Regions from separate parts of the Homo sapiens genome. Here all the other regions are linked to region 2. The links are contacts of gene promoters, found by promoter capture Hi-C in blood cells and fetal thymus (Javierre and others, 2016). All regions are on one chromosome and are shown on one strand. The core of a region is centred on a gene start or on the middle of the fragment in contact, and the rest is flanking DNA. Distances in the headings are between cores, read along the strand shown.

The links. The method cuts DNA at HindIII sites, captures the fragments that hold promoters and counts their contacts. A CHiCAGO score of 5 or more calls a contact.
Region 1: a contact is called between the fragment with the promoter of GHRL here and the fragment with the promoter of MTMR14 in region 2, in 2 of 17 cell types (neutrophils and monocytes). The highest score is 6.5, in neutrophils.
Region 3: a contact is called between a fragment that was not itself captured here and the fragment with the promoter of MTMR14 in region 2, in 1 of 17 cell types (monocytes). The highest score is 5.3, in monocytes.

What each region holds. Positions count from the first base shown.
Region 1 is chr3:10,290,439-10,294,721 of GRCh38, forward strand. GHRL (ghrelin and obestatin prepropeptide) reads right to left here and starts at 2,509. Exons shown (of 6, transcript NM_016362.5): 1 at 2,404-2,509; 2 at 278-1,013. GHRLOS (ghrelin opposite strand/antisense RNA) reads left to right here. Exons shown (of 6, transcript NR_073568.1): 6 at 1,630-3,011. RefSeq lists enhancers at 153-755, 2,267-2,336, 2,347-2,596, 2,407-2,701. The HindIII fragment of the contact is 7,186 bases long and covers 1-4,221 here.
Region 2 is chr3:9,647,059-9,651,408 of GRCh38, forward strand. It overlaps MTMR14 (myotubularin related protein 14), which reads left to right and starts at 2,447. Exons shown (of 19, transcript NM_001077525.3): 1 at 2,447-2,684. The coding sequence starts at 2,526. RefSeq lists enhancers at 2,042-2,271, 2,079-2,974, 2,261-2,430 and silencers at 2,302-2,411, 2,512-2,611. The HindIII fragment of the contact is 16,951 bases long and covers 1-4,350 here.
Region 3 is chr3:10,259,691-10,264,054 of GRCh38, forward strand. It overlaps TATDN2 (TatD DNase domain containing 2), which reads left to right. Exons shown (of 8, transcript NM_014760.4): 3 at 447-980. Among named protein-coding and RNA genes, the nearest start is that of TATDN2, 13 kb to the left of the region's middle. RefSeq lists a silencer at 4,245-4,364. The HindIII fragment of the contact is 1,770 bases long and covers 989-2,758 here.

The DNA of each region.
Region 1 (4,283 bases), core at 1,259-3,758, 640 kb after region 2:
GGGGGTCCTCCCCGGTGCCTTTTGTCCCAGGCTCTGAGAGCTCATGGCGAGTCTTTTCATGAGGAGGGAGGAAGCTGAACCAGCAAGGGCCCCAGGGCACTCAGCAGGGAGGGGGTTAGAGGTAGCTCCTAAATGAAGCTCTGTCTTCCAGCCAGACAGTCCGACATCCCCCGTGTTTAGAGGGGACTCCTGAGGCCCAGAGAGGTTAAACGGACGGGCAGCAGTCACGGACAATAAACCTGTCAGCAAACGCACACGGAGAGTAGAGAGAGCTTACCTGCAGTTCCTGGCGGAGGTGGTGCCTGGTGGCTGTCAGGTCCTTATATAGGATGACTGGCGTTTGTTCTAAACCAGCAACCCCATCCCAGAGGTGGCCTAGCTTCCGTGGGGCTGATGTACATTCCTTGGGAACTAAAAATGTTCTTGTCCTCTGGGTAGAAGTCAACAGTGGAGGTCAGATGCCCTGCGGAATTGCTGGGTTGGCGAGGGAAGAAGCATGTGCTCCAGCTGTCCCTGGAACACGGTGGCGGGGTGCCCCAAGTGGGCATGGCCCTGGTGGAGGAGGGAGGGAGGAGAGTGGCTCTGGGGTCTGGGTGCAGCTTTGTTGCTGTGTGACCTTAGCTTACTCGCCCTTTCTCCCTGGGTAAAATGAGGCTGTCATCACTAGGAGAGCTCTGAGACCTCCCCAGTCCAGCGCCCCGTTGTTTCCCATGTGCTGTTGCTGCTCTGGCCTCTGTGAGCCCCGGGAGTCCGCAGGGAGCCAGGCTGGTGATTCTACACCTTCCCGAGGAGGAGTCCCACCTCCCGGTTGAGCAGACTGCTCCTGATCATCCTCTCCAGAGAGTGGGTGTGGGGATAACTTCAGCCAGTGGCTATGCTTCAGTCATTTCTGCCAGGTGTGACATGACTGCCTGGCCTGGCGTTTTTTCACATAGCAGCTTGCCTTGCCTCCCTCCAGCAGCTTTGGTCCCTATTTTAGCGGATGCCTCTTCTGAGAGGGAAGTGCATTGGACCTGGAGGTGGAAGATCTACGCTTAGCACGGGCCTGGCTCCTCTCTCATTGACTGGCCTTACGCCGACCACAAATAATTCCCCTTACCCAGAGTCTTTGAGGGTGAAATGAGGCGATGGGGGGAAAGTGGCTTCTAACCTGTGAAACACCCTGCAGATGACAATGGTTTCATACCAGGCCCATAGGACTTCCCAGCATAGGCCAAGGCCACTGCCTCATTTCCCTCGGCCCCAGGAATTTCTTCCTTTCTGGAGTGCTTCATCCAACTGGGTGCCCAGGCAGGAACCCCTAAGGGCCAATGAGTTGTCTGCAGAGAAGTTCTAGCAGTTCAGGAGAGGAGCTCACCTTAGGCTGGGGCTTGCGGCAGGGATGTTAGCAAAGGCTCCAGGAAAGAGGCCTGTGGTGAACTCGGGGCAGGGCTTTGGAGGGAGGGCTTTGCGGCAAGCAGAGGGGAGGTGAAGGCGTGGGTAGAGTACATCAGGGCAGCATGGAGAAGGCTGGGTGGCTTGGGGGAGGGTGGCGATGGGGTCATAACAAAAACATAAGAAGGTGGTTTGGGGCCAGGTGATGGATGCCTTGGGAACTGCTAGCCCAAGAAGTTTGGGCTTTTTTTGCAGGAGGGCAGCCACTGAGGATTCTTGAGGAGAGAGAGACCATAGAATGAATGAAAGAGTTGGAAAGACTTTAAAGCTCTGGGAGGCTGAATCCTTTATTTCGCTGGAAGAAAAACTGAATGCCAAGAGGGCCTCACTTTCCCCAAAGCTATACAGCCATCAGGGGCAATGCTGGGATTCCCCCATGGATCTCTTGACTCCTAATACAGTGCTCTTTCTGATATGCCATCTGGCTCCATAATGAACATTGTGTTCCAGGAAAATCAGTCTGCGCTGAACAGGATGGAATTGGGGCAGGACGTCCAGTGAGGAGGACATTGAGGCAGTAGAGCAGTTGATTGCCGAATGACCACCTACCCTGACTTAAAAGATCAACCTCAGGGAGGATTGGAGCTTTCTAGAGTCTCTTGGGACAGCAGAAGCACAGGCCGGGTTGGACTGAATCTTTAAGTGGACATGAGGGACAAAGTACCTCCTGTTGGTAAACATCTCACCACCAACCCACTGTGGTGGCTAAAATCCCACCTTTAGTCCCAGCAACATATGAGCATGTCACCAGGAGGTCTTCACAGGCCTGTCTGCCACCTGAGTGTAGACATCTTTTGGCCCTGGAGCCCAGAGAGGCTGAATGTGGAGAGGGTGGAGAGAGGTCTGTAGTCCTCAGAGAAGACTTGCAGCTTTTTCAGAGCCACCAACCCATAAAAAAAAAAATCCCCAAACAGAAAAATCCTAACTGTGGTGACCAGGTACCTCCTGAGACATGAAGCCTCCACTTACCTGGACCCTGGAGGCCTCTCCGGGCACAGCTGCCAATGTTGATCTTAGATAAGACCACCAGCAAGTAAACATCCACTGTGCAAAGCTGTGTTATCTTTGGGGAACTGAAATGTCCCCTGGGAGTTGGAAACTCCCCTAGCCACATACCACAGAGTTGAGGAAGGAAGAGCTGATGGACGGAAGAACCATGGCGGGAGGAGTCATCCGGAAGCTACCTCGCTGCCCTGTCAGTTACGGAACAGAGGAGAGATGCCGGCTGGAGGACACAGCAAATTTGAACCAAGAGGAGCTTGGAGGAAGCCCGAGCGACCTGGAGGGGACTGGCTGACCTTCCTCATTCTTTTCAAGTGTGAATAATAACCAAGCCCAGTTTGGCAACTCCTTGAGGGTGAGGACGAAGCCCCATTCTCCTTTTTGGAACTTGGTGGGGCTCAGGAAGCAGGTTCTCTCCAGTCGGTGGCTTTCCTTTCTGTTGCGGGTCTCTTGAGGGCCTGCCTTCATGAAGGCACATGAGTGACTCATCATTTGTGAATTAATTGCTATATGTGAAGGGCATCTGAGAACAAATTATCTTCATAGACTTTTCATTATAATTTTATTTGTACTGATAATTAGTTGGTTTAGCAAGCTCTTTTTTCATAGATTTGGCTAAACTTCAGTCTGAAAGAGGCAAATTCTGGGGTTCTAGAAAGAGATTTTATTCTTTGATATAGGGCTATTTGGTGGGGTTGCTTTTTGTCCTAGTTGTAGCTTTTATAATTTCGAGATTCACATTTTGCAATAGAAATATACAGGCATACCTTGGAGGCATTACAGCTTTGGTCCCAGACCACAATGAAGCAAGTCACACGAATTTTGTTGGTTTCCCAGTAAATATAAAACGTATGCTGATACCATACTATAGTCTAAGTGTGCAACAGCATATGTCTAAATGAATATACATATATATTTTTTTGAGACAGGTTCTTGCTCTGTCACCCAGGCTGGAGTGCAGTGGCACTATCATGGCTCACTGCAGCCTCCACCTCCCTGGACTAAGATGATCCTCCCACCTCAGGCTCCCAAGTAGCTGGGACTACAGGTCACACCACCACACCCAGTTAATTTTTGTATTTTTTGTAGAGACAGAGTCTTGACATGTTGCCTAGGCTGGTCTTGAACTCCTGGCTTAAGTGATCTGCCTGACTTTGCCTCCCAAAGTGCTGGGATTACAGATGTGTAGTCTTTGAAATCCAGTGTGTGTTCTTACAGTGCATTTCAATTTGGACTAGCCATGTTTCAAATGCTCAGCAGCCACATGCGGCTCATTCTAGATAGGCGGCCATCGCTCTTAAATCCTCCCTGACCTTAGCCATGCTCTCTCATCCCTCCTCTTCGCCAAGCTCTGCCTCTCTCACTGGGGCTTCCCTAGCCTCCGGCCATCTTGGGGCCAAAGCTCTAACACTTTGCCTCTCTCGTGTCTTCTGTTCCCCTCCAGTGGCTTCTGCTTTCTGCCTTAAAATACACCCAGGTTCCTAATCCTGAAAACGTCTGTTGTGCACCGATCCCACCCTCCCCTCGTGTTACCATCTCCATTTCCTTCCCCTTTCCTTGTGTCCTCTTCTTTGCTGTGTCCTGGCCCCTCAAAACTTGACCTTGCCTCTCATCCCCACTGCTGTACTGAAACTGTTGTCTCAGCGTTGCTGATCATCCAGCCTTTTAGTCTATGGACCGCTAAGAGCCATAGGACGACCTCAGGGTGGGACGTGGCTTGGAGGGCCATCTCGTCTCAATTTCCAGATACAGACCTGTGTTGGGTTGTGTTGGATTCATGAGGAAAGCTTCATAAGTTTTATGCACGTTTATAAGACTCCATCCTTGGATTCTGATCCAGTAGCTCT
Region 2 (4,350 bases), core at 1,197-3,696:
ATTACTCCATTTTGGTTCTTAGTCTTGTTTGTTAGGATCTAGTGCGGGTGCTTTGTCCAAAATAATGGCCTATAATTTTTTTCTTTTTTTTTTTTTTTTTTAAGGCAGAGTCTCAAGAGTCTCGCTCTGTCACCCAGACTGGAGTACAGTTTCATGATCACAGCTCATTGCAGCCTCAACCTCCCTGGCTCAAGGGATCCTCTCCCACCTCAGCCTCCCAAGTAGCCTCTCAATGTGCGCCACCACACCTGGTTGATTTTCTTGTAGAGATGGGGGTCTCACCGTGTTGCCCAGGCTCGTCTCGAACTCCTGGGCTCAGGTAATCAGTTTACCTTGGCCTTCCAAAGTGCTGGGATTACAGGCATGAGCCACCATGCCCGGCCTGTAATTTTTCTTTAACACCATATAATCCAGTCATTTCATTCCTTGGTGTTTAAGACAAATGCGTATATAGATTTGTCAGAAAATATCTAGTAGGCCAGGAGTAGTGGCTCAAACCTGTAATCCCAGCACTTTGGGTGGCAGACGTGGGAGGATTGCTTGAGCCCAGGAGTTTGAGACTCGCCTGGACAACATGGTGAGACTCGGTATCTACAAAAAAATTTAAAAAGTAGCTGGGTGTGGTGGCACATGCCTGTAGTCACAGCTACTTGGGAGGCTGAGGCAGGAGGATTGCTTGAGGCCAGTAGTTGGAGGCTGCAGTGAGCCACGATCATGCCACTGTACTCCAGCTTAGGCAACAAGAGTGAAACCGTTTCTAAAAAAAAAAAAAAAAAAAAAATTAAATTAAATTAAAAACCAATCTACCGTATTAAAACTCTAGAAGCCAGGATAGTGATTAACTGGGGGTGGGAGGAGTTGGGGGGGCAGGGTGGTGGGTGGTTGTTGGTGAGTGGGTAGTGACTGAAAGTGGTCAGGAGGAGGGTTCCGGGGCGCTGGTGTACATATCATACTTCTATTAAAAGTTTAACAAAAACGAATTACTTTCATTCAGACTGGGTATTAGACCACATTAAGGAATATTGTTAATTTTCTTAGGCATGTTAATAGCCTTATATTTTTTATGTATTTTTTTTTTGAAGTACAAATCTGTTGTGATAAATGCTTAAGTATTCACAGCTGAAATAATGTGATGTCTGGGATTTGCTTTAAAATAATTCCCTGGATGGGAAGGGACTGCTTAAACAGGATAGATAAGCAGATGTTGATTATTGTTCAAAACCAGTTAATGGGTACATGAGGGTTCATTATACTATTGTCTCCACTTTTGCGAATGTCTGAAATATTCTAATAATAATAATAATGAGAGGCTTCTCATCACAGAATTTCAAGGCAGTCGCTTCACCTCCCTGACTCCCAGTTTCTACCTCAATAAAATAGGGCTGATGATATAATGCACTGTACTCACAGGGATGTTGTGAGCAGCAGGGGGAGAAAGGGTTTTATGAAATGTTGTGTTTTTGTTTTTGTTTTAGAGACGGAGTCTCATTCTGTCACCCAGGCTGGAGTGCAGTGGCGCGATCTCGGCTCACTCTCCGCCTCCCGGGTTCAAGCAATTCTCCTGCCTCAGCCTCCCGAGTAGCTGGGATTACAGGCACCTGCCACCACGCGCGGCTAATTTTTGTATTTTTAGTAGAGACGGGGTTTCACTGCGTTGATCAGGCTGGTCTCGAATGCCTCACTTCATAATCCGCCTGCCTCGGCCTACCAAAGTGCTGGGATTACAGGCGTGAGACACCGCGGCCGGCTGAAATGTTTTAATATTGGTAACCACTGCCATTATGGTTTCTAGTACTAATTTGTTGCCTCCAAGCGTTCTCTCCTCCTCGCCCTGTAATTTTTTTTTTTTCTTAAGACAGAGTATTGCTCTGTCACCCAGGCTGGAGTGTAGTGGTTCGATTTCGGCTCATTGCAACCTCAGCCTCATGGGTTCAAGCGATTCTCCTGCCTCAGCCTCCCAAGTAGTTGGGATTACAGGTGGGTGTCACCATGCCCGGCTAATTTTTTTATTTTTAGTAGAGATGCGGTTTCACCATTTTGGCAGCCTGGTCTCGAACTCTTGGCCTCAAGTGATCCGCCCGCCTCGGCCCCCCAAAGTGCTGGGATGACAGGTGTGAGCCACCACGCTCGGCTTCCCTGTAATTGTTGATTCCACTTTTCCTCTGGTTCTTTTCAATGGTTCCTTCCTGCTACCCCCCTCCCCCGGCAGCCCAATGGTTGAGCCCGGCTTCCCCGGGGGAAACCCCTTGGGGCGGATCACGCGGTATCAGCCAGTGGCCTCCCTGGTGGATAGAAGGATCGCTCTGCGCCGGGGGCGGGCCAGTAATCGTAGGCGGGGCGCGGGTCCAGAGCTCCGATTGGCCAGAGTCGGAGTAAACATCCGGCGGGACGGGGCGGGGCCGGAAGTGGAAGTGGAAGTAGAAGGCGGTGGCTGAGGCGGTTCCGGAGGTTCTAGTGTCGGAGTTGGGTGCAGGCAGGTGCCATGGGCCCGCTTGAGGCACACTGAGGGGACGCGGGGCTGGGCCATGGCCGGCGCTCGGGCCGCCGCCGCCGCTGCCTCGGCGGGGTCCTCGGCCTCTTCAGGCAACCAGCCGCCTCAGGAGCTGGGGCTTGGGGAGCTGCTGGAGGAGTTCTCCCGGACTCAGTACCGGGCCAAGGATGGCAGCGGGACCGGCGGCTCTAAGGTGAGATTGGAGGTGCGATGAGCTGGGGAAGGCTCCTAACTTGGGAAGTTACAGAGGAAAGGCTGAGGCCAGGGGTCAGAAAAAGGTAGGAGTGGTACCTCGCCGCTGAGGAAGAGGAGAGAGAGAGAGGAGTTCTCCAGGGTCTGTATCCGGAGTATAAGAGTCGGTCTTGACAACCATAAAAGGAGGAACTGGGGTCAGAATGAGCCCAGCAAAGAGGTCCTTCTTGTTTGAGAAGGGGTCTGGAGGTGAGAGATCAAGCTGAGGGGCCAGGTTCAAAGATCAGAGAGGAGGACCTAAGGAAGGTCTATTCCCTGCTTCAGGTGCCGTAGGATGAGTTGTGTCAGGGAAAAAGCCCCAAGAAAAAGCTAAGAAAAATAGGGAGACGATTCCTCGGGGTCAGAGGTCAGAATGGAGCCAGGAGGTGAACCCAGTGTGCTGCCCCCTTATAAGGTCTCAGCATGACTTAGGCCCATCCCTTTCCTTCCCCTATAGAGCAGGAAGACAACCCACACTCCCTTTCAGTTCCTTTATCTAAAGCAGGTCTCCGTTCCTCTTTTTGCTCCCTTTGGGATTTCCACCCAGTCGTCTTATCGCCAGACCTGGAGGGCTTCCTGTCAGCTCAGGCCATCCCCACCCTAAGCACTGGCTGGCAGTGCGGTGGGAATCTTGCCGACCCTGCCATCTCATTCCCCCACGTGGTTTTGGCAGCTTTAGCACCAAGTTTTCCAGTGGAATTCTGTTCCATCCTGCACCACAGAACTCTGATTTGACCTCAGAGATTACCGTGAGTTGCTATTCTGTAGTTGGCATCTTGTAGTCTCTGAAGTAACCCAGGGAAGACTTCAGTAAGGATTGGACTTCCTCACTCTCCAAATGGCCAAGTAATTTTTCCAAGTATAGTCTGGGGACCACCTGTTTAATGATCATCTGGGGTACTTTTAAAATTTGTGCTTATGGGATACTTTGTGAAAACAGAGATTCCTTAGTCCCACCCAGTCCTACCAAGTCAGAATTTCTGGGGGTGGGATCCTGGAATTTGCTTTTTTTTTTTTTTTCTTTTGAGAAGGAGTCTCGCTTTGTCGCCTAGGCTGGAGTGCAGTGGCGCAATCTCAGCTTACTGCATCCTCCGCCTCCCCAGTTCAAGCAATTCTCCCTGCCTCAACTTCCCAAGTAGCTGGGATTACAGGACCCCACCACCACGCCCAGCTAATTATTGTAGTTTTTAGTAGAGATGGAGTTTCCCCAGGTTGGCCAGGCTGGTCTTGAACTCCTGAGCTCAGGTGATCCGCCTACCTCAGCCTCCCAAAGTGCTGGGATACAGGCGTGAGCCACCGCGCCTGGCTTTTTTGTTTGTTTGTTTTTGTTTTTTGTGTTGAGACAGGGTCTCGCTCTGCTGCCCAGGCTGGATTGCAGTGGTGCAACCATGACTTACTGCAGCCTCGAAATCCTGGGTTTGAGCGATCCTCCCACTTAAGCCTGCCAAGCACCTGGGACCACAGGTACACACCACCATGCCTGGCTAATTTTTCTTTATTTTCCTAGAGACATGGTCTCGCTATATTGCCCTGGCTGGTCTCAAACTCCTAAGCTCAAGCAATCCTCCCACCTCAGCCCCCCAAAATGCTGGGATTACAGGCGTGAGCCGCCACACCTGGCCAGTAAG
Region 3 (4,364 bases), core at 624-3,123, 610 kb after region 2:
CAGAACTGGGGGATTGGAGTTCCTGGGGCTAGCCCTTCCCCTCACTGGGTCCTCAGGTTTCCTTTACCCTTAGATATGGGATTGGGCTAGCTGGTTTCTAGGGCCCTTTCCAGTGGGAAGAGCTTGAGCTGCTGTTTTGCCTGAAGTGTAGTCCTTGCCTTCCAGGAGCTTGCAGTCTGGTTTAATGAGAGTGTTCATTTCAGCTCCTTCCGTCCCCTTGCAGTGAAAGGATATCATCTGCTGAGCATGAGAAGGCGAATGCTAAGAAATGGCAGCAATCAGCCCCTCTTACAGTGCCACTTCACCACCCGGAGAGAACCTTTGCCTTAGCCACAGTCACTTTCCCTTTGACTGGTAGAACCACCACTGATTTATAATTTGCCAAATGCTTCATGTACGAAAGTGCCCTTGGAACAGCCCTTTCAATTCTGTTTTTTTTTTCCCAGGTTGATTCCAAAGATAGTTCTCATAACTCCACAAACTCTGAATTTGCAGCTGAAGCTGAGGGTCAGAATGATACAATTGAGGAACCCAACAAGGTCCAGAAAAGGAAGAGGGATAGACTTCGAGACCAGGGCTCCACAATGATCTACCTGAAGGCTATCCAGGGCATCCTGGGGAAATCGATGCCAAAAAGGAAGGGAGAGGCTGCCACTCGGGCAAAACCAAGCGCAGCAGAGCATCCCAGCCATGGAGAAGGACCAGCCAGGAGTGAAGGACCAGCCAAGACTGCAGAAGGAGCAGCCAGGAGTGTCACAGTCACTGCTGCTCAGAAGGAGAAAGACGCAACCCCAGAGGTCAGCATGGAGGAGGATAAGACAGTGCCAGAGAGGAGCAGCTTCTATGACAGGAGAGTAGTTATAGACCCTCAAGAGAAACCCAGTGAGGAGCCCCTTGGGGACCGAAGGACTGTCATTGACAAATGCTCTCCACCCCTAGAGTTCTTGGATGACTCTGACTCTCATTTAGAAATCCAAAAGGTGAGTAAAGCTTGTACCAGGCATCTGACTTTTTAGTTCTGTTGATGAAATGTGTTCCATCTTTCTAGTTTGATCCTAAGTGTTACTAATTAAAAATAGTACTTTACTTAACCAGGCCTCCAGGGAACAAACTGATGGTTTTCTTCTAACATACTTTTCAGATTTTCAGAGTTATTAATAAACCTAAACTAAGTGCTTTTTTTTTTTTTTGAAGGATTTATATGTTAGGATATGGGTTTAGCTGCTGTGTAAAAGGCCAAAATCACAGTGGCTTAAACAGAATATAAGTTTGGCTTAAGAAGGATGGCTCCATCATGTCAGAGATACTGGTACCTTTTGTCTTGATTCTCTATCACCCCTCAACACAGTGTCCATCTCTTGGTGTGAAATGGATACTCTGATAGGACTCAGGGTTTGTTATCTGGGCATTCTGGCCAGTGGGAAGGGGAGAAGAGGAGAGTGCATTCCTTCCCTGTTAAGAGCTTGGCTCAAGAGTTGCACATGTTGTATCTGCTGTTGACAAGAGCGGGGAAACCCGGCTGACACCTGGCTGCAAGGGAGTCTGGAAAATCAGCCTTTATCTAGGCAGACTTGTACCTGGATAACCAGAGAAGAAGGGAAGGATGTCATTGGACGGAAACTAGTGATTTTTAACATAGCTTATAATTGAGGGGAAGCATTCCTCCATCTTTTTCTTTTTTTTTTTTTTTTTGTTGTTGGGACAGAGTCTTGCTCTGTTGCCCAGGCTGGAGTGCGATGGTGCAATCTTGGCTCACTGCAACCTCCACCTCCTGGGTTCAAGCAATTCTCCTGCCTCAGCCTCCTGAGTAGCTGGGATTACAGGTGTGCGCCACCAAACCGGCTAATTTTTGTATTTTTAGTAGATATGGGATTTCTCCATGTTGGCCAGGCTGGTCTCGAACTCCTGACCTCGTGATCCACCTGCCTTGGCCTCCCAAAGTGCCGGGATTACAGGCATGAGCCACTGTGCCAGGCCACATTCCTCCATCTTACTCGTCTCCACCCATCCTTTACTACTGCTCTGCAGGCAGCTTCTCTCATCTTTAGCTCTTTCTTCTAGTACTTACCCCATGTTTCTAAATAATCTTTACTGTTGATCAGTTTTTCAGTTTTAGATGTCTGAGGACTTCTTGCTTGGGCGATGAGAATTTAGTTCTCTATACCTCCTTCAGAAGCACCCACACCCAGGGACACATTAGCTTCCCCTTTCTGCAGCCTCCCTGTGTGGCTTGAATACCTTTTGGGTTAAGTCTGTGTAAGATTTGTTACTGCCATGTTCACAGCTGAGTCGCCTTGTATACTCTGATCACATTTTCTTTCTTGTAAAACTTCATTTTCCTTAAAGTTCATCATTACTTTGTTTTTCCTTTGGTTTTCCTGGTACCTTTCACTAATTAATCCCCAAACTGCGAGAGCTGTAAAATCCTTCTCAATACTGTCAAAATAAGGAATCTGTTTCTTTTTTTTCTCTCTTGGAGGTATACGTCCTCAGCCCTCTGTTGTCCTGCTCTGGTCTGGACTGCCTGCCGTCAGGCCAGCTGGCAGCTGTCTCTCTGGAGCCTCCTTCACATTTCTCCCGGATTGAGTCTTCTGCTACCTATACTCTGTGTCTTCTCATGTTCTTCTTCCTTGGTTTACTCTCACATTTTGGTGGAATACTTTTTCTAGTAGCTTCTTGAGAAAGGGTACATGGAGAAACTTTTTTTGGTAAACATGTGTCTGAGATTGCCTTTATTTTACCTTTAACCTTGATTACAAGCTTGGTTGGTTTTGGAATTCCAGGTTGGAAATTGTTTTGTTTGGGATTTTGAAGGCATTGCTCCTTTTCTTCTGGGCTTTTTTTTTTTTTTTTTTTTTTTTGAGGTGGAGTCTCGTTCTGTCTTGCCCAGGCTGGAGTGCACTGGTGTGATCTTGGCTCACTGCAGCCTCCACTTCCTGGGTTCAAGTGATTCTCCTGTCTCAGCCTCCCGAGTAGCTGGGATTACAGGCACACGCCACCACACCTGGCTAATTTTGTATTTTTGGTAGAGACAGAGTTTCATCATGTTGGCCAGGCTGGTCTCAAACTTCTGACCTGAGGTGATCCACCTGCCTAGGCTTCCCAAAGTACTGAGATTACAGGTGTAAGCCACTTCGCCTGGCCTCTTCTGGTTTTCTTGATGTCTGAAGCTATGCTGGTTCCTGAACCTTGGTATATGATTTTTTATTTTTTATTTTCTTTTGCTTTGAGACAGAGTTTTGCTCTGTCACCCAGGTTGGAGTCCAGTGGCGTGATCTCAGCTCACTGCAATCTTCACCTCCCAGGTTCAAGCGATTCTCCTGCCTCAGCCTTGTGAGTAGCTGGGATTACAGGCATGTGCCACCACACCCGGCTAATTTTTGTATTTTTAGTAGAGATGGGGTTTCACCATTTTGGTGAGGCTGGTGTCGAACTCCTGACCTCATGATCCGCCCGGCTCAGCCTCCCAAAGTGCTGGGATTACAGGTGTGAGCCACCGTGCCCAACCTGTATTTTTTTTTTTTTTCCCTCTGTGGAATCTTGTAGAATATATTTTGATCTCAGGGCTCTGAAATTTCATGGTGGTGGTGTCTACTTTGCTTAGCATGGGACATTCCCTTTCAATCTAGAAACCCTTGTACTTTAGCTGTGGGAAAAGTTCGTGAATTACTGTACTTCGCTGATGTTTTCTTTCCGTATTTTTCTTCTCTCTTTCTCTCTCTAGCTTCTCTACCTTCTTTCTCTTATTTGGATGTTGGATTTTTCAGGACTGGTCCTGTAATTTTATTGCCTTTCTCCCTTGTTTCTAGCCAATTTCTTGCTTTACTTTGTAGGATATTTCCTTTTCTTTATCTTCCAACCCAGCTGTTTATTTAGTTTTACTTTTCTACTGTCATGCTTTTTATTATCCAAGAGCTCTTTTGTTTTTTAATAACATCTCTGTTCTTGTTTCATCTTCTGTTATCTCTTTTAGGGAGTTCATGGTAGTTTTTTGGCTTGGTTTTAGTTTTCTTTAAGTTGCTTCTTTCCGTTTCTTTTGATCTCTTCTGTGTTAGAGGCTGCCTTCACATGTCTGGTAATCTTTGGTTGTCTGTTTATGATCAAGAATGGGAGGATTAAAAAGCTGTTTGGAAGCTCTGAGCGTAAAGACTTTGAGCTTTGCTTTGGGATGATCGGGAGAATATAACCCTCTTCCCCTTGCCATGTCACTGCTTTTAGGAAAGCCTCGAGACTGGTCACCTTGCCCAGAGGAGTGTTTTTCAGCCTGCTTAGGAGGAAAGGTGGCTGGGAGCTGGGTAGCGAAAGGGGCGGCTGCGGGGGCGGCGTCAGCATTCACTTAATCTTTGTCTTTTTGGTGCAGTACC